4 separate regions of the Homo sapiens genome follow, and regions 1, 3 and 4 are each linked to region 2. Evidence: promoter capture Hi-C in 16 types of primary human blood cells and fetal thymus (Javierre and others, 2016). All regions are on one chromosome and are shown on one strand. Each heading gives the region's core, a stretch centred on a gene start or on the middle of the fragment in contact. The rest is flanking DNA. Distances are from core to core; before and after follow the strand shown. Region 1 has its middle 11 kb from the start of PDC-AS1. Region 2 holds the start of PTGS2 (prostaglandin-endoperoxide synthase 2). Region 3 overlaps PLA2G4A (phospholipase A2 group IVA). Region 4 overlaps ODR4 (odr-4 GPCR localization factor homolog).

The links. Contacts are between HindIII fragments. The CHiCAGO score rates a contact against its expected background, and 5 or more counts as called.
Region 1: a contact is called between a fragment that was not itself captured here and the fragment with the promoter of PTGS2 in region 2, in 1 of 17 cell types (neutrophils). The highest score is 5.5, in neutrophils.
Region 3: a contact is called between a fragment that was not itself captured here and the fragment with the promoter of PTGS2 in region 2, in 1 of 17 cell types (M1 macrophages). The highest score is 5.2, in M1 macrophages.
Region 4: a fragment that was not itself captured here is called in contact with the fragment with the promoter of PTGS2 in region 2 in 1 of 17 cell types (megakaryocytes); the score reaches 5.8 in megakaryocytes.

Annotation. Positions count from the first base shown.
Region 1 is chr1:186,422,255-186,425,362 of GRCh38, reverse strand. It overlaps a transcript of ODR4 not described here. Among named protein-coding and RNA genes, the nearest start is that of PDC-AS1, 11 kb to the left of the region's middle. The HindIII fragment of the contact is 8,322 bases long and covers 1-3,108 here.
Region 2 is chr1:186,678,974-186,682,069 of GRCh38, reverse strand. PTGS2 (prostaglandin-endoperoxide synthase 2) reads left to right here and starts at 1,647. Exons shown (of 10, transcript NM_000963.4): 1 at 1,647-1,831; 2 at 2,632-2,748; 3 at 2,869-3,012. The coding sequence starts at 1,780. It overlaps PACERR (PTGS2 antisense NFKB1 complex-mediated expression regulator RNA), which reads right to left and starts at 1,416. Exons shown (of 1, transcript NR_125801.1): 1 at 624-1,416. The HindIII fragment of the contact is 7,534 bases long and covers 1-2,402 here.
Region 3 is chr1:186,941,213-186,944,626 of GRCh38, reverse strand. The region is part of intron 10 of PLA2G4A (phospholipase A2 group IVA); the gene reads right to left. Among named protein-coding and RNA genes, the nearest start is that of PLA2G4A, 110 kb to the right of the region's middle. The HindIII fragment of the contact is 283 bases long and covers 1,480-1,762 here.
Region 4 is chr1:186,385,514-186,388,882 of GRCh38, reverse strand. It overlaps ODR4 (odr-4 GPCR localization factor homolog), which reads right to left. Exons shown (of 14, transcript NM_017847.6): 4 at 2,800-2,895; 5 at 335-441. Among named protein-coding and RNA genes, the nearest start is that of ODR4, 11 kb to the right of the region's middle. The HindIII fragment of the contact is 1,570 bases long and covers 1,096-2,665 here.

The DNA.
Region 1 (3,108 bases), core at 609-3,108, 260 kb after region 2:
ATTCACTGCTATGTACCTCTCATTTTTCCTCTTTTTTAAACAAGAGTGTATATTGCCTGACTCACCATCGTAGGCTGGGTGAATATGGGAAAGAAAACTTGTCTTTAGTTTCACACATCTTCGGATTGAGGGAAACTGTAGTAAAGGTGCCTCATATGTTACTGAAACTGGTTTAGATCATGAGATTCTGGGTCTTGAGCTTGAACTTGATGTCATATTGAGATGAGACTTTAAGGTTTCCTAGGAGGTAGTGAAATAATTTTCCATCAGGAACACAAATTACTATGACCAGGGGGTACATTGTAACTACCAAAGATTTCTGCCATCAATTTCTTTCTTGCTCGTGTATGCATGACCCCTTCCCATCAAAAAGGGGTTTTTTTTTTTTTTCTTTAATCTAGGCTGACCCTGTAGATTACTTTGACCAATACAATGTGGTGAAAATAATGTTCTGGGATTTCCAAGCTAAGGCCCCAAAAGGACTTAGCTTCTACTTTCCTCTTCTTGAAATGCTTATACTTGGGATGCTGCTTCTTGGATCCCAGCCATAAATGATAGCAAGCCCAGCCACCACGACTGGAAGAACTCCAAGTCCCATGGAGAAGCCACATAAACTGAGATGTGGCAGCTGAATTCCCAGCTGATAGCCACCATTAACTGCCAATCATGTGCATGAGTATCTCAGATGTTTCAAGCCCAATCCAGCCCCTAGATAACTGCAGCTAAAGTCACCATCATGTGGCGCAAAACCACCCAGCTGATTCCTATCAACTCACAGCATTGAGGCAAGTGAAATGGTTGTTATTTTAAGCTAATTAAGTTTGAGGGTAGTTTGTTAGTAACAGACAACCCCACCCAAAATTTATGTTAGTGCCATTAAGTAAATGAAATGAAGATCAAGAAACCCATTACTCAAGAACGAAAGTATCACTAATATTGTTTTATGTATTCATGTGTTACACCTTGCCACTATCCTGAGTTTTATGACTCCTTTAAAAGAAAAAGTTTTATCACAAATATACATATTCCTACATAATACAGTTTAGGTTTCTTTTATAGCTTTATAAAAACTGTAGCATACTGTATGTAGACTTCTGAGACTTGCTTTATCATTTTTAAGATTACTCTGGGTTGTTGTATGTAGGTCATTCTCCCTGCTGAATAAAATTACAAAACCCGTAATTTGTTTTTTGTTGTCAACGGACATTTGAGTAATTAAAAACAGGGCTGCCACAAGCATTCTCACATGTGTACTCTTGAGGTACACATATCCAAGAATTTCTCTAAGGCATTTATGTAGAGGTAGAATGGTTAGTGTACGTGAATTCTTAACTCTAAGAGATAGTGCCAAATTGCTTTCTGAGCTCAGAGTCTATCAGTTCAAAATCCTATCTGCAGTGTGAAAGACTGAGGCACATCATCTTTATTGGTATTGTTGTATTCCTTAATTTTTCAATCTATTGAATGTAAAATGTTATTAATTATGGTTTTAATTAGCCAATCACTTACAAGGTAAAACTTCTTTTCATGTGTTCAGTCATATCCTCTGAAAATACCTGGTTTGTCATTTGCTTATTTTTCTACAGGACAATGATAAATAGAAGTGGTGGCCGGGTGCAGTGGCTCACACCTGTAATCCCAGCACTTTAGGAGGCCGAGGCAGGCAGATCACCTCAGGTCAGGAGTTTAAGACCAGCCTGGACATCTTGGTGAAACCCTGTCTGTACTAAAAATATAAAAATTAGCCGGGCGTGGTGGTGGGCACCTGTAATCCCAGCTACTCGGGAGGTTGAGGCAAGAGAATTGCTTGAACCTGGGAGATGGAGACCGCAGTGAGCCGAGATCACGCAACTGCACTCCAACCTGGGTGACAGAGCGAGACTCCATCTTAAAAAAAAAAAAAAAAAAAAAAAAAAAAAGCACAAGTAGTGGTGATAATAGCCACCCTTGTGTTCCTGATTTTTAAAGTATACAACTTAGTCATGATGCACTGTTTTGTCAAAGTTTATTAATAGTGCTTTTGACTTTACAAGTGTTAGTAAGTGCTATCAGCCTGTAATTTTCTTTTCTCCTACTGAATGTCTCTGATTTAATATCAGTAAGTTATATCAACCTCACACAATATGCTGGCAAGTATTCCCTCATTAGCTATTTTTGAAAGAGCTTGTATAAAATGTTAGAATTTTACCCCCCTTGAAAGACCTGTGCCAGGTCTTGTCAAAAAGTTAATTATTGTTTACTATTCAACCTATGAATAAGTATATTCAGCTTTTCTATTTCTTCCTGAGCCAATTTAAGTAAATTGCAGTTTTCTAGAGTTTGGTCTATTTTGTCTAAGTTTTCAAATACATTAGCATTAAGATGTTCCTGGTAGTCACCTTTTCATCCCTGCTTTATCAATGGATTTGGACCCCTTTTTCAATCTTTGTGTCCCGTTTCATCTTGTTCAATTATGCGTTTTACTGTTTGTCATGATAACAACTTTAACATATAATTCTTTATCAGTTTCTAATTCATTGATTTATTCCCTTTCCTGTATTTCCTTGCTTCTACATTGCTTTCGCTATTGTTTTTCTAAGTTGCACATTTAGTCTTTTCCCTTAAGCATTTAAAGCCATTTCCCTCAAAGTGCTGTTTCAGCTACAATACCCAATTTAAAAATATATATTACTTGTAACTAGGCTTTAAGTATTTCTTTTTCTCCTCTGTGAAGATCTAAACATGTAAATGTAATATTTAAAAAAAATTAACCTTTATTACTGACCTCTACTTGCTTCTGATTATCCATTTAATACCAATTATTTGATGTTTTGTGACTTGCCTCATGCTTAAAATACAGGGTCCAGTTTTGCTAATATACAATGCTTAAGAAAAATATTCTTTAATTGTTTAATACATTATTCTAAATGTTTATTGAATCAGTATTAATTACATTAAAATGCTTTCACTAATTCTTTATCATTAATTAGTTGTTGAAATCTCCCATTATTGCTCATTTTGTTGCTTCAGCCCTATTGTTGCTTCAGTTCATACATTTTGGGGCCATTTCATATGGTGAATGCACACTGAAAATTATTATATAGACCTAGTAAATTGATCCTTTATTTT
Region 2 (3,096 bases), core at 398-2,897:
ATTTCATGTAAGATTCCATGCAATAAATAGGAGTGCCATAAATGGAATGATGAAATATGACTAGAGGAGGAGAAAGGCTTCCTAGATGAGATGGAATTTTAGTCATCCGTGTCTCATGAAGAATCAGATGTGTACACTAAGCAAAACAGTTAAAAAAAAAACCTCCAAGTGAGTCTCTTATTTATTTTTTTCTTATAAGACTTCTACAAATTGAGGTACCTGGTGTAGTTTTATTTCAGGTTTTATGCTGTCATTTTCCTGTAATGCTAAGGACTTAGGACATAACTGAATTTTCTATTTTCCACTTCTTTTCTGGTGTGTGTGTATATATATATGTATATATACACACACACATATACATATATATATTTTTTAGTATCTCACCCTCACATGCTCCTCCCTGAGCACTACCCATGATAGATGTTAAACAAAAGCAAAGATGAAATTCCAACTGTCAAAATCTCCCTTCCATCTAATTAATTCCTCATCCAACTATGTTCCAAAACGAGAATAGAAAATTAGCCCCAATAAGCCCAGGCAACTGAAAAGTAAATGCTATGTTGTACTTTGATCCATGGTCACAACTCATAATCTTGGAAAAGTGGACAGAAAAGACAAAAGAGTGAACTTTAAAACTCGAATTTATTTTACCAGTATCTCCTATGAAGGGCTAGTAACCAAAATAATCCACGCATCAGGGAGAGAAATGCCTTAAGGCATACGTTTTGGACATTTAGCGTCCCTGCAAATTCTGGCCATCGCCGCTTCCTTTGTCCATCAGAAGGCAGGAAACTTTATATTGGTGACCCGTGGAGCTCACATTAACTATTTACAGGGTAACTGCTTAGGACCAGTATTATGAGGAGAATTTACCTTTCCCGCCTCTCTTTCCAAGAAACAAGGAGGGGGTGAAGGTACGGAGAACAGTATTTCTTCTGTTGAAAGCAACTTAGCTACAAAGATAAATTACAGCTATGTACACTGAAGGTAGCTATTTCATTCCACAAAATAAGAGTTTTTTAAAAAGCTATGTATGTATGTGCTGCATATAGAGCAGATATACAGCCTATTAAGCGTCGTCACTAAAACATAAAACATGTCAGCCTTTCTTAACCTTACTCGCCCCAGTCTGTCCCGACGTGACTTCCTCGACCCTCTAAAGACGTACAGACCAGACACGGCGGCGGCGGCGGGAGAGGGGATTCCCTGCGCCCCCGGACCTCAGGGCCGCTCAGATTCCTGGAGAGGAAGCCAAGTGTCCTTCTGCCCTCCCCCGGTATCCCATCCAAGGCGATCAGTCCAGAACTGGCTCTCGGAAGCGCTCGGGCAAAGACTGCGAAGAAGAAAAGACATCTGGCGGAAACCTGTGCGCCTGGGGCGGTGGAACTCGGGGAGGAGAGGGAGGGATCAGACAGGAGAGTGGGGACTACCCCCTCTGCTCCCAAATTGGGGCAGCTTCCTGGGTTTCCGATTTTCTCATTTCCGTGGGTAAAAAACCCTGCCCCCACCGGGCTTACGCAATTTTTTTAAGGGGAGAGGAGGGAAAAATTTGTGGGGGGTACGAAAAGGCGGAAAGAAACAGTCATTTCGTCACATGGGCTTGGTTTTCAGTCTTATAAAAAGGAAGGTTCTCTCGGTTAGCGACCAATTGTCATACGACTTGCAGTGAGCGTCAGGAGCACGTCCAGGAACTCCTCAGCAGCGCCTCCTTCAGCTCCACAGCCAGACGCCCTCAGACAGCAAAGCCTACCCCCGCGCCGCGCCCTGCCCGCCGCTGCGATGCTCGCCCGCGCCCTGCTGCTGTGCGCGGTCCTGGCGCTCAGCCATACAGGTGAGTACCTGGCGCCGCGCACCGGGGACTCCGGTTCCACGCACCCGGGCAGAGTTTCCGCTCTGACCTCCTGGGTCTATCCCAGTACTCCGACTTCTCTCCGAATAGAGAAGCTACGTGACTTGGGAAAGAGCTTGGACCGCTAGAGTTCGAAAGAACTCCGTGGATATTCCAGCTTTCCCACAAGCACTGATCATTATGAGCCAGTTACTTAACCGATCTGAGACACTCTCACCTCCTAAATAGGGATAGATGATACTAATTTGCAGGTTGTCATTATGATAAGACAGGATCTGATCAATATATGTGAATTGTTTATATTTGGAACCTTTTTATTGAGTGGAAGAAGTTGTTTTAAATATTCTAGTCAGTTCTTTCCTGCTCCCAGGAAAGCCCGGATTATGTTTTAAGATAAGCAAAATGTCTTAAAAGTAAGCTGTTTTACTTTGAATTTTTCCCTAAATGTTGATTAGTGTACTAGATCCATTTTAATTTGGAAAGTGAAGTGCTACTTATTTGAACTTCTTAAAAATGCTAATTTTAACATCTAAAGAGTTAACTAAGAAAAGCTTAGTAACATGATGTACCAAGTTGAATATGCTGTTATCCTTATTTAGAATAGAAAATTGGTATTTCTACGTTTTATCCATTCTAAGGCAGGTTAAAAAATTGTATTTCCATGACTACCTATATATTTCTTGAATTTATTATTGTAAAGTTGATTCATAGTCAAACAATTAAATGTTTAAATTAAGATTAAGACACTAGAGAATGATTTATTTGCTGTCCTTTAATTGCAGCAAATCCTTGCTGTTCCCACCCATGTCAAAACCGAGGTGTATGTATGAGTGTGGGATTTGACCAGTATAAGTGCGATTGTACCCGGACAGGATTCTATGGAGAAAACTGCTCAACACGTAAGTTTGTCCTTTGGTTGCCTCATTAGGAGTGGGGCTGGATACAGTTATCATTGTATAGATTTGTGTCTTATAATGAGTCCCATTAATTTCTCCCTCCCTTTCTTCGTCTTCTTGCAGCGGAATTTTTGACAAGAATAAAATTATTTCTGAAACCCACTCCAAACACAGTGCACTACATACTTACCCACTTCAAGGGATTTTGGAACGTTGTGAATAACATTCCCTTCCTTCGAAATGCAATTATGAGTTATGTGTTGACATGTAAGTACAAGTGTCTTTCTAAGGTTTTTAGCCTTCTCAAAGAAAAATATGCTTTATAATACTGTAAGCCTAATCTAAAAACAT
Region 3 (3,414 bases), core at 372-2,871, 260 kb before region 2:
GATAACATTGTAATTCATTATATGTCAAAGCCAAATGGTACATATATTCTTCATCAGAAAGTGGTGTGATTTACAACGATTTACGTGGAATTTGTGAGACATAACTAGCAATGAATCAGAGGCTGTTAGGAAAATTCCTGTATTCATACAAGTAATTTCCTATCTCTCAATTTCACAACCCTATCATGGGAACTGAGGCATAACAACTTCCTGGTTCCTGCTTTTCTAGCGATCTCTTCTTGATTAGCGCCATGGCCTGGGCACATAGTAACTTAGGCATTCTCAAAAGCTAAAATGAGCTCTGCACCCCTCACTGAAGAACTCACGGTGTTAGTTTTCAACTAATTCTCTCCTGCTGGTGACTCTACCTTTTGACTCCAACCTCTCTCCTGCGCTTCCATGTACTTTCAACTTCCTTTGGGGCCCTTACACTCAGATATTCTGTCATCTCCTCCCACTATACTTACCTAGATAAGAACTCATCACCCTTCTTCCCGGGCCAGCTTACCTATTTCAGTAAACCATGCTATCACTCTATCAAATCCATCATTGCATCACACCGATAACCTTTAGGCCTCTCATATCCATCTATTCTTTTCTTATCAGTATGTCCCTAGTTCCAGGGCCTTATCACAAAAGCACAGTGATATCTCTGCTTCCAGTTTCATTCCTTTCCATTCTGTTTTTATTGGTCACCAAAGTGACTTTTTCAAAAACACTACATAAATAATTTTATTGCCCTGCACAAAAGCATTAACTATTTCCATTATCATCAAAATCAAATAAAAATATTTCTGTCTGGAATTAAAATCATTCCATAACTTGGGACTATTGGTGCCTCCAAATACAACACCTTTTCTTCACCAATGTGTGCATAAGTCCTAGACTAGTTGTTTTTTTTAATAGTGATGCCCAAAACATAACTCTGGCTTCCCTTCTGAGCATTTTCTCATATTGTTTCCACACAAAGGTATCTTTTTACCCGTACTTGATAGATCCTTCTACATTCGACTTAAATCCAAGTTTCATCACCCTTTCTTACAACTATACTAAATCTCTATGACATCTCACCCTTATGTCAGGTCTACACACTTATGTCAGGTCTAGGTATATTATAGGAATTTTTCCATGCTTTATTTTTGTCTCTTTCAATAGGATTATAACTTTCTTGAGGAAAAATACTATATTTGTACTTCTAAAGTGTCTGTCAAAAAATTTAGCATGATGCTAAGTTCATAACCATAAGTTGTAATCCATAAATGCAGTTTATTCACCAGTGGAAATTTTTAAATGAACGTTTTAAGTCCTTTCAGCAATGTGATGTAGTGGAGGAGTCAGGAATTTCTAACAGTTTAAACACCAATGTTTATTTGTTGAAAATTTCCAAGAAATTTCTAAATGAAAGGTGTGTTTAAAATTATTCCAAGAGGAAGGGAAAATATTATCCGGTATTGTTGAAGTAAAATTGTTAATAAAGCTTCTGTAAGCTAATTTGATTATTTGACTTTTAAAAATATAATTCAGAGACTATCTCAACTTTTTCTTCTACACAGCCACTTTCAATCTAAGCATATATTGGAAGAATAAATTACAGACGTGTCTCTATTCTTTTTTTCCCAGTAACTCAAGTAAAGCTACTTGAACACTCAAGACATGTACCTTAAGATGTCTTATCTGGGTACAAGATTCATATAATTAATGTTTAATGATTTTGTCTAAATCTGTTGGAAGACACAGCTCAACCCGCCTTATGACAGAAGCTTAACAATGAAGGTTAATGATGCACCACTCATCTCAGTAGCAGTACTGCAGTGAAGCAGATGTCAAAAGAAGACACATCCAGGTCCAAAGACTACTAACTGAATATAAAACAGCATTTTTTCAGTCTAAAAGAACCCAGAATATCCACTCACCCAAATATTATTTATTCTTTAATTATTTTAGTTAAGTTTTCTTGGAAAATGGCTATTGACTAAAAATTCAGAATAAAATATAACCACCGTGAAAAGTCCAGAACAATCATGACAATAAAAACAAACTTTTATATTTGTATGCCTCTTTATAGTTTTCAGTCTCATCTTATGCATATTTCATATTATTGCCTTAATAGCTCTGGAAGATAAATCTTAGGGTTAATATATTTTTTAAAATAAGGAGGAAAATAAGAATCAGAGATTACATGACTAGCCTGAGGTATTCAGCTTAGAAGTATTGTAAGACAAGGCTTTTAAATTAGAATGTAGTGTTCTTTTGACCATGTAATTCTTTCTGGGTGAAGGATGATTTATTTGGCCATGCAAAAATCTGACTAGCATGCAAGTGTTATAGATCAAACAATTCCAAAAATTTCAAAGCTCCACAAGATAATAGCTATGGCTGGGGGGAAGCAATTTCATTATGGCGCTTACTTTTCTATGTAATAAAGTCTCAACTCTCTACTATGAACCCCATTATAGCCCAAGATGTGTGGTTCCTTGTTGCCATTGAGCACACCTGAGTTATCCCTGACCCTGCTACATGCCCCCTTCCACAATCCAATAATTAAATGTGCCTTTCATATTCAAATCCTATTAATCTTTAAGATCTAGACCTCTGACTTTTCTTATACAGCTTTCACAGAACATTCTAAATTGTTAAAATGTACTGGAAACTTATTATTAGGGCCTGCCATTGTTTACATACTTTGTCTCATTTTTTGGCAAAACATTGTGAGAAGTCTCATCTTCACTTAACAGATGAGAAAACTGGGTCTAACGTAGATTATATAACTTGGTCAAAATGACAGTGTATAGTAACAGTTCTGTACTCTCTTGTGCCTTAACTTCTTTAATAATTATTGTAAATTTTCCAAACAGACTATAAGGTCTTATAGGGTAGGGACAATATATTGTGGTGAGGAAAGAGGAATTCATCCTTAGCGCCCGGCAGACTGCTGCAATCTATATAGACGGTAATCACTATGTACACATCAGAAGTTAGTATGGTAAAATAAAAAGAACAAAGGATTTTTGAAACCAATTTCAGCACTGCTAATTACGTTCTAAGCAGCAATGTGCAAATTATTTAATCTTTATGAGGTTTTCGTTTTTCTTCTGTTGAACAGAGCTAAAAATACCTACTCCCCGGTTGTAGGAAACATGGAATAAAATAGCAAATGTGATAAGTGCGTTCTGAACCATAAGCATGACAAACATTTTAGCCAATATTTTAATAAACATTTGAATGAATGGATCCCATGTGTGCTAATTTTTGTAAACTATTCAAAATTTTTGTCTGAGAGGCAGTTGAGAGAAAAGTGAAAATTACAAAAGGATTCTGGATATATATGTGCCAATTACACACCACTCATGATGGTTTTTTAAGCTCATGGGGTGTCTGAAGTCACTGAGATAATTTTCCTAAAAATAGAATGAA
Region 4 (3,369 bases), core at 631-3,130, 290 kb after region 2:
TAAAAACATTACTTTGCCTAAGCCATCAGTTAGGCATTTATCTCTGTAGGGAATCTGCTGTGCTTGGATGTACAGGGCAGATAGCTGGTAAAAAATTCAGAATCCTGAGTCTTTCATATTACAGATCTCAAGCTTTTTATCACCTTGGGACATGATTAACAACCATTATTGCTATTATTATTATTGGTGGCTCTAATTCCATGTTATTTACAGAAAAATCTTACAAAACTATGCCTATTTTTTAAATGATGATTTAAATAAATAGCAAAAAAACCTTGCAAGAATATTATTTTGGTACTTTGTACTTTTAAACCATAAACTGAACAAAAGATACTTTTTTGTAGAAGCACAAATGTGAAGTGTCACTCGTTCTGAGACTTCCTCCTCTGTGAAATTCCACAATCTCTTTCTATTTATAGACTTTTCCACAGCAAACATTAGCTGAAAGAGAGAAAAATACACACTAATTGAATGTAAAATGAAAAAAAAAGATGAGTGTTGAAATAGGCAATTATAATGTCCCCAACTCTCATTTAGCTTTAAAATTCCATGATTCTTTATTTATTGGAGAAGGGGTCTCACTATGTTGCTCAAGCTGGCCTTGAACACCTGGGCTCAAGTGATTCTCTCACCTCAGCTTCCCAAGTAACTGGGACTACAGGTGTGTGCCACCATTAATTTTTCTTTTCTTCAAATTAAAGACTGGAGCTAATTACTAACATTTTTGAATTCCTTTTAGGAAATTACAGAAAAATTGGGTTTAAATAAAAAAATTTAATTCACTATCATTAGAGATTAACTGGACACAAAAAATTAATTTGGGGCAACTAGAATTTATATAAACTATAGAACAGAGACTTTAATTAGAATGAGAAATGATAAGTGATTTTAACTAAAGAAATCAAGCATGTCACCCATTTAGCATTTCTTATTTAAACGTCACACAAGACTTAAGGCAATATATAACAACATATAAAATATAGTAATAACAAATTGAAAGTTAAAGTAGAATAGTGAGATAAATTTGTGTCAGAAATAAGAATTATAAAAATGCATACTTGATGTAAGGGGTGGTAATACATTTCGGTCTAAGCTTTCTAACAATAATGTGCAGAGAGAAATCTAATCTGTAACCTAATTCACATGGTCTGTAAGCTAAAAACAATCATCAGAGGAGGCACAACCTTCTTCATAATATAAAAAGAAATTCTTCCGGAAACACAATATTAATGTAATATGATGAATAAAGTCCTTAACAATAATGGGTGACACTGACAAGTTTTATAAGGCTGTTTCTTGTAGTGTTTGTCAGTGTAGCCAGTGGAAACAATTAGATAATTGAAACTCAGTAATGTCAGAGATAAAGCATTTCTAAAGTTTTATATACTTTTTAGGAACAAAAGATACAAAAGCAAGGAAAGTGGGCCTGGCTGTATCTCTCTAGCACTGGGCCCACATTCAACCCCCTCAATTCAGCACCAGCCAAAAAAGGTTGCACAATGAATGCTATTAATATTAAATACGCATAGATTTCGGTTAAATTTCAAAATGCCAAAGAGAATGAACAATTGTAAACAAGGTAAATTTATTTAAGATGGAAAAGTTGGCAGAGGGTTAAACAATTTAGCAGGGAGGAGAATATCTCCATTTTCTTCCCTTACTCCCTTAGGTGCAAATATCAAAGGCTTGAGGCTGGGACATCTGACAGGACAGGTTACAAGACTGAAAAAATCTGTAACATCTGAAGTTCTCAGCTGTATATTTTTTACCTAAAAAATGTTTTTCTGGGATACTGTTGGGGTTGGGTTTTATATGTCTCAAGATTTTAAGGTTCCCCCTCTTTTGGGGTATGAAATACCCTTCAAAAAGTTCATGTGGATCCTGAATGCTAAAAGAGCTGGCTACACAGAATCTACCTTAGGTTTGGGTTTAAGGGAAAACAGCATGTGGACCTTCATATTTACTTTTACACTATGTTACCCAATTCTCTGGTGCAGCAATTAAGCAAAAAACACAGGAGATTTCTGATAGATACTGTGTCCAGGAATAATCTGATTGTTTATGTTTTACTCTCAGGATCTCCGGAGAATTGAGAAGAAGGTAAAGAATTTCAGCACCTATTAATTTCATGTTACAGTAATCACTAGGTACTAAATGGAAGGTGTGACAGAATACTGCTATTGCATAAGAAAAACTGTTTAAAGCATTATAATTTGTTTCCTAATAGTCAGAAATTACCTCTAAAATAAAGATTATTTTAAAATATGTAGTTTTTCTGTCAAAAAGAATTACTTCCACAAAGATGCCTTTTTTACAACAAATTATTAGATCCAAGTGACTTTGAGTTCTTAATATTATAATTAATCATTTGAATTTTTCAATATTTTACAATGAATTATTTGTTTGCATAATTTACATGGAATTACTGTCATTAGTCATGGTTATTATTGAGAAGTAAATAATTTAACTTTTTAACTTGAGGAAAGAATAGCTTTTTCAAATTTGTATGAAATGCCATATGGGCTGATGATAGCCCTGTTTTGGGTAGTGTACTAAATAAAGAATAAAATTACCCATGGAAAAAATAATAAATAAAATGTGTAGTTTTTAAAAATATAAACATTTTTTACACTCAAGATATCCAAGCAATTGAGTGACAAAAGCTTTTTCAATGTAACCCCAACAAAAAGAATTATGGAAAACAAATGTAAATATGCCTAGAATCATTACACATACTCATAATCAGTAAAAATAACATATAACTGATTTCATTAAGAATTTTCGATATATCAAACTTACTCTACGCAGGGCATTTTGAAAATCATTTGCCAGTTCTAAAGTAGTAATAATAAATACTCCAAGAACTAAAAGTCCCCCTGGTAGCATTCTGGATACCTAAAAATAGAAATATATTATTAGCTAACAAATTGGCATTATATGCAATCCTTTCTGTTTGAGAAACTGTCTGCTTAGCATGTCCTTAGCTTTTCACCTTAAAACTACTTTATAAATAAAACTATCTGATAACAACATCCTTTAGCTACATCAATAAATAAATCCTTTTCTCAGGAGATCAAAGACTGAAATATTTTTTCAATGGCGTCCCACCATCAGCTAAATAAAATGAAGTTTTATTTTAGATTGATATTTCAGACTTTCTAGGATCTGGTCAATGATGTTTATACCCTCATTTGACACTACTTTTCCTCAAGTAATTCAAATATTTGTCAAAAACTACTTGAAAAGTAGTGTCAAATGAGGCTATAAACTGTTTTCCATACACATCCTAGGCTTTCTAACTATGTGTCTTTACTCAGGGTGTTCCCTAGGCCGAAACTGACTTTTTCTTATACTTCTGCATGTCTCAAC